Linked DNA regions of Homo sapiens: region 2 is linked to region 1. Evidence: promoter capture Hi-C in 16 types of primary human blood cells and fetal thymus (Javierre and others, 2016). All regions are on one chromosome and are shown on one strand. Each heading gives the region's core, a stretch centred on a gene start or on the middle of the fragment in contact. The rest is flanking DNA. Distances are from core to core; before and after follow the strand shown. Region 1 holds the start of RAB7A (RAB7A, member RAS oncogene family). Region 2 holds the start of COPG1 (coat protein complex I subunit gamma 1).

Region 1 (5,207 bases), core at 964-3,463:
ATTAATTAGAAACTGTAATATTATCTTCTACACTCTCTGAAGAGCAAACCATACAAATGCTGTTGTTAAAATTAACAAAGCCTTAAAGTTAGCCAGAAGAACACCATCCTTTGGGTTACTACTGATTCACCAGCAGAGATGAGAAATAACTCTTTCCAAAAAGCCTCAAGTTCTACCGCCAAATTATTCCACAACAGAATTTCTGGCCAAGATCATTCACCTTTTAAAAATTCCTTGAGGACAGGAACCACGCCTATCTCCCTGAGTCAATGTCCCACAATGCCTGATACATTGCTGATACTCAATGGATACTCAAAATACTTAATGAATGAATAAAAAGGTGCCTATCATTACTCTAAACTCAAACATTATATAAAGCCACAGTACTTATTACTCACTTAAATATTTTAGGCTAGGTAGCAAAGTTAAAAAAAAAAAAGACAAATATGAATACAACAGGATTGTGAACGCTAAGCTTTAACTTAGCCGGTCCCTTCTTCAGAAGAAGTACTCCTAACTCACCTTCCAGTCCTTAAACTCAAATCTGAACAAACCTTCCCAAGTTTGAAGAGAGAAACACACTAAGAGGAGACTTTATTCATCCATGGATGAGAAATCATGTGCTTCATCAGCTGCTTAAGTCACAAGAAAGAGACAAGAGTCCGTTCTTTAGGAAACCAAAGATGCAGTATTTTGAATAGGGAAGAACCAGCCGGCTGGACAGCCATCAACTAAGGTTGTAAGAAAGGTTCACTAGGCAGGTTTGCCAGGCCTACCTGCAAAATTTTTCAAACCTCAGTTAAGTACCCTGCCGGTATTCAAGAGCTCCTAATTCGGTGACACTACACCACAATATGTGTGATAAGTCGCAAACGGCATTTCTTATGGCTTTAAGGGAGAACTGATGCTACCAGAAAGACTTTCAAATGACATCAATAGAAAGAAAGGAGGTGGTGGGAGGCACTGAGGTACAGATACCAGGTAGCAAAAGATAAACCAGCAAGCTTCAGGGGTACGTGAAAGCAGTACAACCTAGAAATTTAATACAGTGCTCTGGAGTCTGACTGCCTGGGCTTGCATCTCTGCTTCGTAACTTATTAGCTGTGTGACCTTGGCCAAATGGCTTAGCCTCTCTGTTCAACTTCCCACTGTGTTAAGTGGGCACAACAGTGGTACTTCAGAGGGTTGTTCAAAGAACTAAACATAATGATCTGTTAAAAGGTCTTGCCACGCTGCCTAGCATACAATAAACGCTCAAATATTTGCTGTCAATATTCTCAATATTCCCCTTATGACCCCATTAGGTATCAAGCCTAAAATGAATGCAGAAAGAGGCCCCAAACACGGTCGGAATGGAAACACAACTCTACATCCAACTACCATCTTTCCTCGATTAAGTTGAAAAACTTCTCTCAGGATTTACCGTAACATGCCTAGGACAAAAAGCTCCCTGTCTCCCAGCGCCAGAGGCGCCTCAATGTACACAAGTGTCGAGGCGAGCCCAGCGCACGTGACCTGACTCACTGCCTTGACTCAGTTGCCGTCAGGGAACTCCCACTAACAGGGTCAGGCTGTTCAACTGAAGAACCGGATGGGAACGCGGCTCGGCCCCCAGCGCCTGTGACCCATGCCCGCCGGGTGGGCACGGCGGCGGGCGGCGTGGGCTCTGACACCCTCCTGCTCGCCGCGCTAAGGAACTCCACTGGCCAGCGCGTCCTGCCGCGGCGCAGGGCCGCCCAAGTCAAGGAACCCTCTCGGGTCTCTGAGATCCAGGCCAACAGTAAACAGAGCGTCCGAGACGGGTGGCCGGGGCGGGCAACCCGGCCAGAGGTCACGCCCGACGACCTCCGACCTCTCCAAGCCGGGTGGGGTCTTGGCCTGCTCCGGGGGCCTGAGCGATGCCGGGTGTGCCCGCGTGGCCAGGGCTGGGACTGGAGCCTGCCCAGGAGGACAGGGAGGACGCGAGGCCCTGGCGACCGAGGGGCTGAGGGGGGGGATGGGGCCAGGCCGCCGGCCGGGCTGGGCCCGCTGCTTACCGCGGCCGCTGCGCTGGGGGCTCCGGGCCGGGCGCGTCGCGAGGGCTCCCGCCGAGGAGGAGACTAAACGGAGGACAGAAGCGAGAAGGTCCAAGTTCTGGTTCCAGGGAACTCTCCCGAGCTCTCCAAGCCGCCAACTCCGCCGCTGCCGCCGCCTCAGGCTTTATGGCCAAGACTCCAGGCCCGCTCCCACTTCCGCCACCGCCGCCGCCCCGAGCGGAAGTACCTGTCACGAGACGCTCGACGCCAGGGTGCGGGGGAGGAGCCCCGCCTCAACCTTGCGTCACGTTCCGGCTGCCTCGGGACTGAGCCTGGATCTCGTGCTACAAACATGTCTGCCCCCAAATGGTTGTCCCCATCTTTGAGGCTCATACAAGGAGCAGGACGGCGCCATGTTGGACCCACAGACAGATTCCCTCAGCCATCCCTCCTTACTCCAGAATAAATAATGCCACCGAAGAGGGGACAAGGGGTAAACTGGCCATTCCAGTTGTGTCCTTCTTCGAAAGGCATCATTTATCCTTACTTTAATTACTTAACCAAAAATTATTATCACCATTTTACAAATAAGGAACTGAGACTCAGTATATCATGTCACTTGGTCTAGCTCAACACAGAAACTGGTGGAGCGAGGTTTTGAACCAAGATCTGTCTGATGCCAATATGTGTTATCGTTCTAGTAGACTGCAAATGACTACAGCAATTGTGTGGCTCGGTGATAGAGACAGGAGAAATAGGCACTTTGTCTGGCAGAGGAGACAGCCCAAGAAAATGGAAAATGAGCTAAAGCCTCTCTGAACTTAGTATTAGAGAAGATGTGATAAAGATGGACCGGGTAGAACTCTTCTTGTAAGCACAGAGCAGCCTCCCAAGCACCAGCCCCATCCGAACACATCAGGATCCACTCAGAATTTTTGCCTCCATCTTCAACAATGCCCTCTCATAGTCTTTTCTTATTTTGGTTCATGCAAGCTCCATTCTTTCAATTGTTCCATCCAAAAACCTTGCAATTGTTACAGTAAGTAGTCAGACCTGAGCAGGGCAGGAGAGGGGCCACTCCCCGACCAGCAATGTGAGGCAACCATGACGTGGTTGTCAGGTTAAGCTGTCTCTCTAAAATAATAATTGGTTGCAGCCAGACCAGAGAAAGGCAGTCTCCCAATAGATAAAAACACCTAAAACTGGTGATCAGCAGCTTCCCGATAAGATCTCAGGAGTTGAGGGGTCTGGGGAAAAAAAAAATCTCAAAAGCTAGGCAAGCAGTCTCAACCCTGAGATGGTACAATGTCTGGGGTTTCCCCTACTTTTTCAACCAAAATTGGCTCTTTCCCCAAAACCCTCACCACCTATTCTCCTGTTTTCTCTATGTGTATTCTGAAATGGCCTTGCACACTGCAGAACCATCCGCCTCTGGGGTAAGTCCACTCTTTCTCTGCTTTCACTTTGCATGTGCCCAGGAGTTCAAGACCAGCTTGGGCAACATAACAAGACTGTCTCTTCCAAAAGATAAACAAAAAAGAAAAGAGAAGGCACACATCTACATCAGACCTCTGCAGTTGTACTTCTCTCTACCTGGAAAGCTCTTCCTCCAGGTATCTGCTTGGCCACTCCCTCACTTTCCTCTGGTCTTGACTTTAAAGTAACCTTTTCAGTGAAATAGCCTTCCCTATTTAAAACTGAAGTCCCTCTCCCTGTCACCACAATACAAACACAAAAATTGACATCTCCCTACTGCTTTTCTCCTCTGTTTTTTCTTTTTTATTTTCTTTTTCTTTTTTTTTTTTTTGAGAAAAGTTCTTGCTCTGTTGCCCATGCTGGAGTGCAGTGGCATAATCAGGGCTTACTGCAGCCTTGAACTTCTGGGCTCAAGTGATCCTCCTGTCTCAGCCTCCTGAGTAGCTGAGACCACAGGCGTGCACCACTATGGCTGGCTAATTTTTTTTTTTTTTTTGTAAAGAGAAGTTTTCACTATGTTACCCAGGCAGTCTTGAACTCCTGGTGTCAAGTAATGGTGTCAAGTAATCCTCCCGACTCAGCCTCCCAAAGTTTTTCCTCTTATACTACTCACTTATTTGCATATTGTCTGTCTTCCCCACTAGAATGGCAGCTCCACAAGGCAGCTATTTTTGTCTGTCTCATTCACTGCGATATCCCTGATTCTTGAAACAGTGTTGGGGTACAGTAGGTGCTCAATGTGTACAATTTGCAGAGTATTCAGGGGAATGAAAACTGAAAATAGTTTCAAAGGCCAAGAGTTATGATAATTCCACCCCGTTAGGCAGCCAATCAAAATGCTAGGTTTGAAGGTAAAGTAGCAACTGGGAATGCAGTAGTCCTCATCCCCAGGTTTGGCAGGGCTGACTGCAGGATTTGAGCATCTGAGTCCTAGAACCAATCCACCACAAATAGCAAGGGACAATTATACCAGAAAAGGCAGAGCACAAAAATAAAATGGGACATGTGGGCCCCAGCCTTCTAAGAAGCCTTCTGAGAAGGCTATTCAGATGCAAACATGGACTATTTCCTATGGGAAAGAAAGGACAACTTAGAAGAAACCCATGAGCCAAGAGGATAGAGCCAGGAGCTGCAGATAATCATTCCCAAGGAGCAGGAGGGGACTCGAATCAAGGAACTGGCATCACGTGCCTCGCTGATTTCAGAATTACTATGACCCAGTGGCAGCTGTCGCTCCTGTTTTTTCCCCTTTTGAACAAAAGTGTCTACTATGCTTATCTTCTTCTTGCCAACTCTGTATGCTGGGTCCGTGGACAGCAGATAACATCTCTAGCTCACAGGCCTTCAGAGGAACAGTGCTCAGAGCCGTTCTTAAGGAATTATATCTGAGGAACCTCATCCACATCTGGACCCAATTTACATGGCAAGATCCATTATGAGCCAGTGATGTATTGGGATTGAGACTTTTAGGGTTCTTGGGGGAGTTAAGTAGAGCAGGGCCTCCAGTAACATCATTTCAATTATAACATTGATGAGAAAAAATTGATTCCTGGCTGGGGCCCCTGTCTGTGTAGTTTACACTCTTTCCCCATGTCTGAGTTTTCCTTGGTTCCTCTGGTTTCCTCCCACATCCCAAAGATGTGCCCTTTAGGTGAATTGGCTTGTCTGAATTGTCCCAGTCTCTGTGTGTGTGTGTGTGTGTGTGTGTGCACGTGC
Region 2 (5,111 bases), core at 1,548-4,047, 520 kb before region 1:
CTTCTAGCCTAGTTCATTTCCCTTCAAGTATATTCAATGTCTGAGAAGTCTCAGGGTAAACTGACTTGTCTAAACAGGGCTTTCTGGGTATGCAACAAGCTTATTTTCATAAGGAAAGGGTTTGTTTTTCTTTAATCAACTACTAATTATTCTTAGACTCTCGTGTAAATATTAGTTAGGGATGTGCTAACCTATTGACTAGCAGATACTTAGCAACCATCTGCTAACTGGAAACAGAAACAATGAACGACAACAATAAAGAAAGAAGCGGCTGGACGCAGTAGCTCACACCTGTAATCCTAGCACTTTGGGAGGCCGAGGCGGGTGGATCACCTGAGGTCAGTTCGAGACCAGCCTGGCCAACATGGTGAAACCCCGTCTGTACTAAAAATACAAAACTTAGCCAGGCATGGTGGTGGGCACCTGTAATCTCAGCTACTCGGGAGGCCGAGGCAGGAGAATTGCTGGAACCCAGGAGGCGGAGGTTGCAGCAAGCCAAGATCATGCCATTGCACTCCACCCCAGGCTGACACCAGCAAGTCTCCATCTCAAAAAAAAAAAGAGAAGTGGCCGGGCGCGGTGGCTCACGCTTATAATCCCAGCACTTTGGGAGGCCGAGGCGGGAGGATCAAGAGGTCAGGATTCACACCATTCTCCTGCCTGGCCAACATCGTGAAACCTCATCTCTACTAAAAATATAAAAATCAGCCAGGCATAGTGGCGTGCGCCTGTAGTCCCGGCTACTTGGGAGGCTGAGACAGAAAAATTGCTTGAACCCAGGAGGCAGAGGTTGCAGTTGAGCCGAGATCGTGCCACTGCACTCCAGCCTGAGCAACAGAGTGAGACGCCTTCTAAAAAAAAATACATATATATATATATATAAAAAATATATATAATAAAAATAAACAAGTCATGCAAAATCTCTACCTGCATAATGGCCACAGTCTAGCTTAGGTGATAGTTTTAAACCAGTTTCCTTAGCTTTGGAATTAACTTTAAATAGAGAAATTTTTTAAATGTTTAAATAGAGAGGCCAGGCGCGGTGGCTCAAGCCTGTAATCCCAGCACTTTGGGAGGCCGAGGCGGGTGGATCACGAGGTCAGGAGATCAAGACCGTCCTGGCTAACGCGGTGAAACCCCGTCTCTACTAAAAATACAAAAAATTAGCCGGGTGTGGTGGCGGGCGTCTGTAGTCCCAGCTACTTGGGAGGCTGAGGCAGGAGAATGGCGTGAACCTGGAAGGCGGAGCTTGCAGTGAGCCGAGATCACGCCACTGCACTCCAGCCTGAGCGACAGAGCAAGACTCTGTCTCAGAAAAAAAAAAAAAAAAAAAAAAAAAAAGAAGTAAGCATAACTAACTCTCTCCAGAAACAAAGTTTTCCTGTCTTCCAGAAAACTTCCAGGCACAAGTTTTCTCCCGTGTTGCTCTTTAAAACAACACTTTGAATGTGTTGGTATTTCAGTTGCATTGGTGGTGAATATTTATGATGGAAGCTAGAGGGGAGCAAATGTCACTTGCCTCCTGGAGTACCGCACTCTTCTCAAGGTGCTGGAATGGGTTGGAGCCTCCACCTACGGTCAAGGACAATGGAGAAGGTAGGTTGTGACTCTGAACTTCAAAACTCTCCCAGACATAGGTAAAGGGAAGATGTCCCTTCCTAGGAAATCTAGTAAAGTTCAAACTCCTCAGGAATGGCAATCAAGCCTCTACAATCTGTCTAGGGATCCTACTAGTCTCCTGCAAGCAGGTGGGCTCCACTCTACCCCAAACCACTCACAATCTCCCAGCAGCCCTGGTACAGTCCTGTGCTTCTCATGGTGCCATGTCTTGTGTTCATTTATATAACTTGTAATTAACTAAGTCCCTATGTGCCAGGGACCACCATCTCGTTGTAACTAGTTCCTTCATAGCAGATGACACATTTGCAAATAATTACACGTGTGATTATCTGGTTGATGTCTGCCTCCTCCATCGTGGGTGCAACCATTCTAATATTCCTAGCTCAGGCACTGAGTGTCCCACTTGCTCTGTTGCAGTATCCAGGACACCGTACAGTACCTGGCATACAGTAACTGCTCAATATACTTTGCTGAATAAATGAATGATGGGGTCAGAGTTCCCAGTCACAGGACGCTGGCTCCGCAGGTTACACCCCAGTTTGGCCAGCACCAACGTAGCCCCAGCGAATCCCAAGAGGTTGGACGAAGAAAGTAACAAGAGAACATTCGGCATGGTCCCCTCCTTTGACAGATGGGTAAATTGAGGCCTGGGGGGGGGGGTGTTTGTCGCGCCCAAGGTCACCCAGAAAATTGCAGTCCGAGCTTACAAGAGTGAGACAGCCGCGCATGCTCGGGCTCTCCGAGGCCTGCCACTGACTAGCTGTGGACCCTGGCACAAGCCCCTGCCCCTCACTGGGCCTCAGCCTCCGGGTCAGGACAGAGAACCAGAAGGAAAGCTCGGCGGGTGGGGGTCCGGCCTCCCTCAGACCCAGGCCTGGCCCCCTCACCTGACTCCTCATCCTTCTTGTCGAATTTCTTCAACATAGTGGAGTCGGTGGGGCGCAATGCAGCAACGCAATGCTCGACGGGCGCGGCACGGAGTAGCGGTGCCACAGTGGTTCTACAGGGACCACTTCCGGGCCCCGACTGGCCACGTCGCCCAGCGCTCTGCGCAGGCGCATTCCGCGCTCTGCGCCTGCGCTCTTTCCGGTAGCCACAGCCTCGTCTAATGTTAACCTTAGCTCCGCCGGAGCGGGAGTGGGGAAAGCCAGACGGAGGGGCAAGGGCTAGGTGCAGGGGGGTACTGACTAGCATCCCAACTCTGCTCCCTACGCTTCTTTCCGTATACCAAGGGAGGAGGAGGAGCCCCTGCCTCGTTGCGTTGTGGCGTGAGTCTTTGTGGCTTTCGGGTGTGAGGTTGGTGGCACACACTGGCCCGCAGTAAACACCCAATTGATGTGACCGGTCTATGACTGTTATTGCCACCTTCCGAAGGAGCCTTGCCAGCCACTCACTCCTCGCTTTCAGATTCTTTCCCCTGCCTGATTTCCTCCTCAGCTCGAATCGCCATCTAACACTTTATTTTTACTTTCTGGCTTTTATTTGTTTATTTATTTCTCGTTCTGCTGCCCAGGCTGTGGTGCAGTTGTGCGATCCTGGCTCACTGCAGCCTACAGTTCCTGGGCTCAAGCGATCCTCCCACCTCAGCCTCCCGAGTAGAGCTGGGCGCACCACCCCCGACTAATTTTTTAATTTTTGTAGAGACGAGGTCTCACTATGATGTTGCCCAGTCTGGTCTTGAACTCGTGGCCTCAAGCGATCCTCCTTTCTCGACCTTCCAAAGTGCTGGGATTACAGCGGTGAGCCACTGCACCCGGCCACTTTCTTGCTCTTTTGTTTTTTTTTTTGTTATTTGCTTGTTTGTTTGTCTTTTATTCACTGCAGTGGATAATGTTGGCACATAGTAGTTGCTCAGTGAGTTCTCGTTGAATGAATGCGTGCAATTGCATTTTTAATTTATATCTGCCGGGCCCTATCTCGTCTGCTCCTGATGCAAATTGCCTTGTACATTATCAACCTTAAGAGATCTAACTAAACAGCATAGAACTTCTACGTTATTTTGTAAATACTTTGGATATTTATGGAGTGCCAACTAGATGCGCTGCCTACGCGGGGAGGTGGGGGGAAGGGCGTGGGAAGGAACGGAAAGGGGAAAATGACACATCACCCAGGGTTTATCTTCCTGGGGACCTATGCAGGACACCCTGAGGCTAAGGTAAGCACAGTGCATGCCAGTGAGCCAGATTGCATTGGCAATGGCAAAGTCGTGATGGCCAAGCGCTGCGACACGGCCCCAGCTTGCCTGGGGAGGGGAAGCCCGCAGGCCTGTGGGCAGGAGAAGGAGTGGGCTGTGGAGAGGAGAGGCAGGAGGCTGAGGCAGAGGCCCCAGGTGAAAAGGGTGACCGCAAAGCTGGAGGAAGGGAGATGTCAGAGGGGCCAGCCCTTAGGGTCTGGCTTTGCAGAGGCTAGGGCCAAGGACAACAGATCTTGTGACATGCAAAATTGTCAAGAGTCAGAAAGATGTTCAAAATGTCTGATCGGTAACCCCACCCCTAATCAGGAGGAAATTGTTCAAAAGAAGAAAATGAGGCCGGGCGCAGTGTCTCAAGCCTGTAATCCCAGCACTTTGGAAGGCTGAGGCAGGTGGATCACCTGAGGTCAGGAGTTTGAGAGCAGCCTGACCAACATGGTGAAACCCCATCTCTACTAAATACAAAAAAAAAAAAAATTAGCCTGGCGTGGTGGTGCATACCTGTAATCCCAGCTACTCGGGAGGCTGAGGCAGGAGAATCGTTTGAACCTGGGAGGCGGAGGCTGCAGTGAGCTGAGATCACGCCGTTGCACTCCAGCCTGGAGTCTGGGCAACAAAAGCGAAACTGTCTCAAAAAAAAGAAAAAAGAAAATGAAGTTGCCTGCTGCAGCAGTTTGCAGCAAAATAATTGTAAACACCCTAAATGTCTATCAATAAAGGGATGATTAAGGAAGTTATGGTACATCTGAGGACTAAACTGATTTTTATCTTGTCTCAGCTACTCCAGGAGTCTGAGATGGGAGGATTGCTTAAGCCTGGGAGGTCAAGGCTGCAGTGAGCCATGATCATGCCTCTGTACTTCCAGCGTGGGCAACAGAGCAAGACCCTGTCTCAAAAAATACATAGGGGTGGCCAGGCGAGGTGGCTCACGCCTCCAGCACTTGGGAGGCTGAGGAGGGTGAATCACCTGAGGTCAAGAGTTTGAGACCAACCTGACCAACATGGTGAAACCCCGTCTCTACTAAAAATATAAAAATTCACTGGGCATGGTGGCAGATGCCTGTAATCCCAGCTACTCGGGAGGCTGAGGCAGGAGAATTGCTCAGGAGGTGGAGGTTGCCCTGAGCCAAGATCGTGCCATTGCACTCCAGCCTGGGTGACGGGCGAGACTCTGTCTCAAAAAAAAAAAGTGTATATACATATATATATATATACACACACACACACACACACACACACATGCATATATAAATAGGTGTACAATTCAGTGGGTTTTAGTATATTAAAAAAAGTTTATGTA

Evidence for each region. The method cuts DNA at HindIII sites, captures the fragments that hold promoters and counts their contacts. A CHiCAGO score of 5 or more calls a contact.
Region 2: a fragment that was not itself captured here is called in contact with the fragment with the promoter of RAB7A in region 1 in 1 of 17 cell types (activated CD4 T cells); the score reaches 5.9 in activated CD4 T cells.

The regions. Positions count from the first base shown.
Region 1 is chr3:128,723,189-128,728,395 of GRCh38, reverse strand. It overlaps RAB7A (RAB7A, member RAS oncogene family), which reads right to left and starts at 2,213. Exons shown (of 6, transcript NM_004637.6): 1 at 2,037-2,213. RefSeq lists a silencer at 1,790-2,079 and enhancers at 1,346-2,330, 2,360-2,489. The HindIII fragment of the contact is 8,952 bases long and covers 1,007-5,207 here.
Region 2 is chr3:129,247,143-129,252,253 of GRCh38, reverse strand. It overlaps COPG1 (coat protein complex I subunit gamma 1), which reads right to left and starts at 2,648. Exons shown (of 24, transcript NM_016128.4): 1 at 2,508-2,648; 2 at 1,520-1,572. The coding sequence starts at 2,544. The HindIII fragment of the contact is 5,392 bases long and covers 102-5,111 here.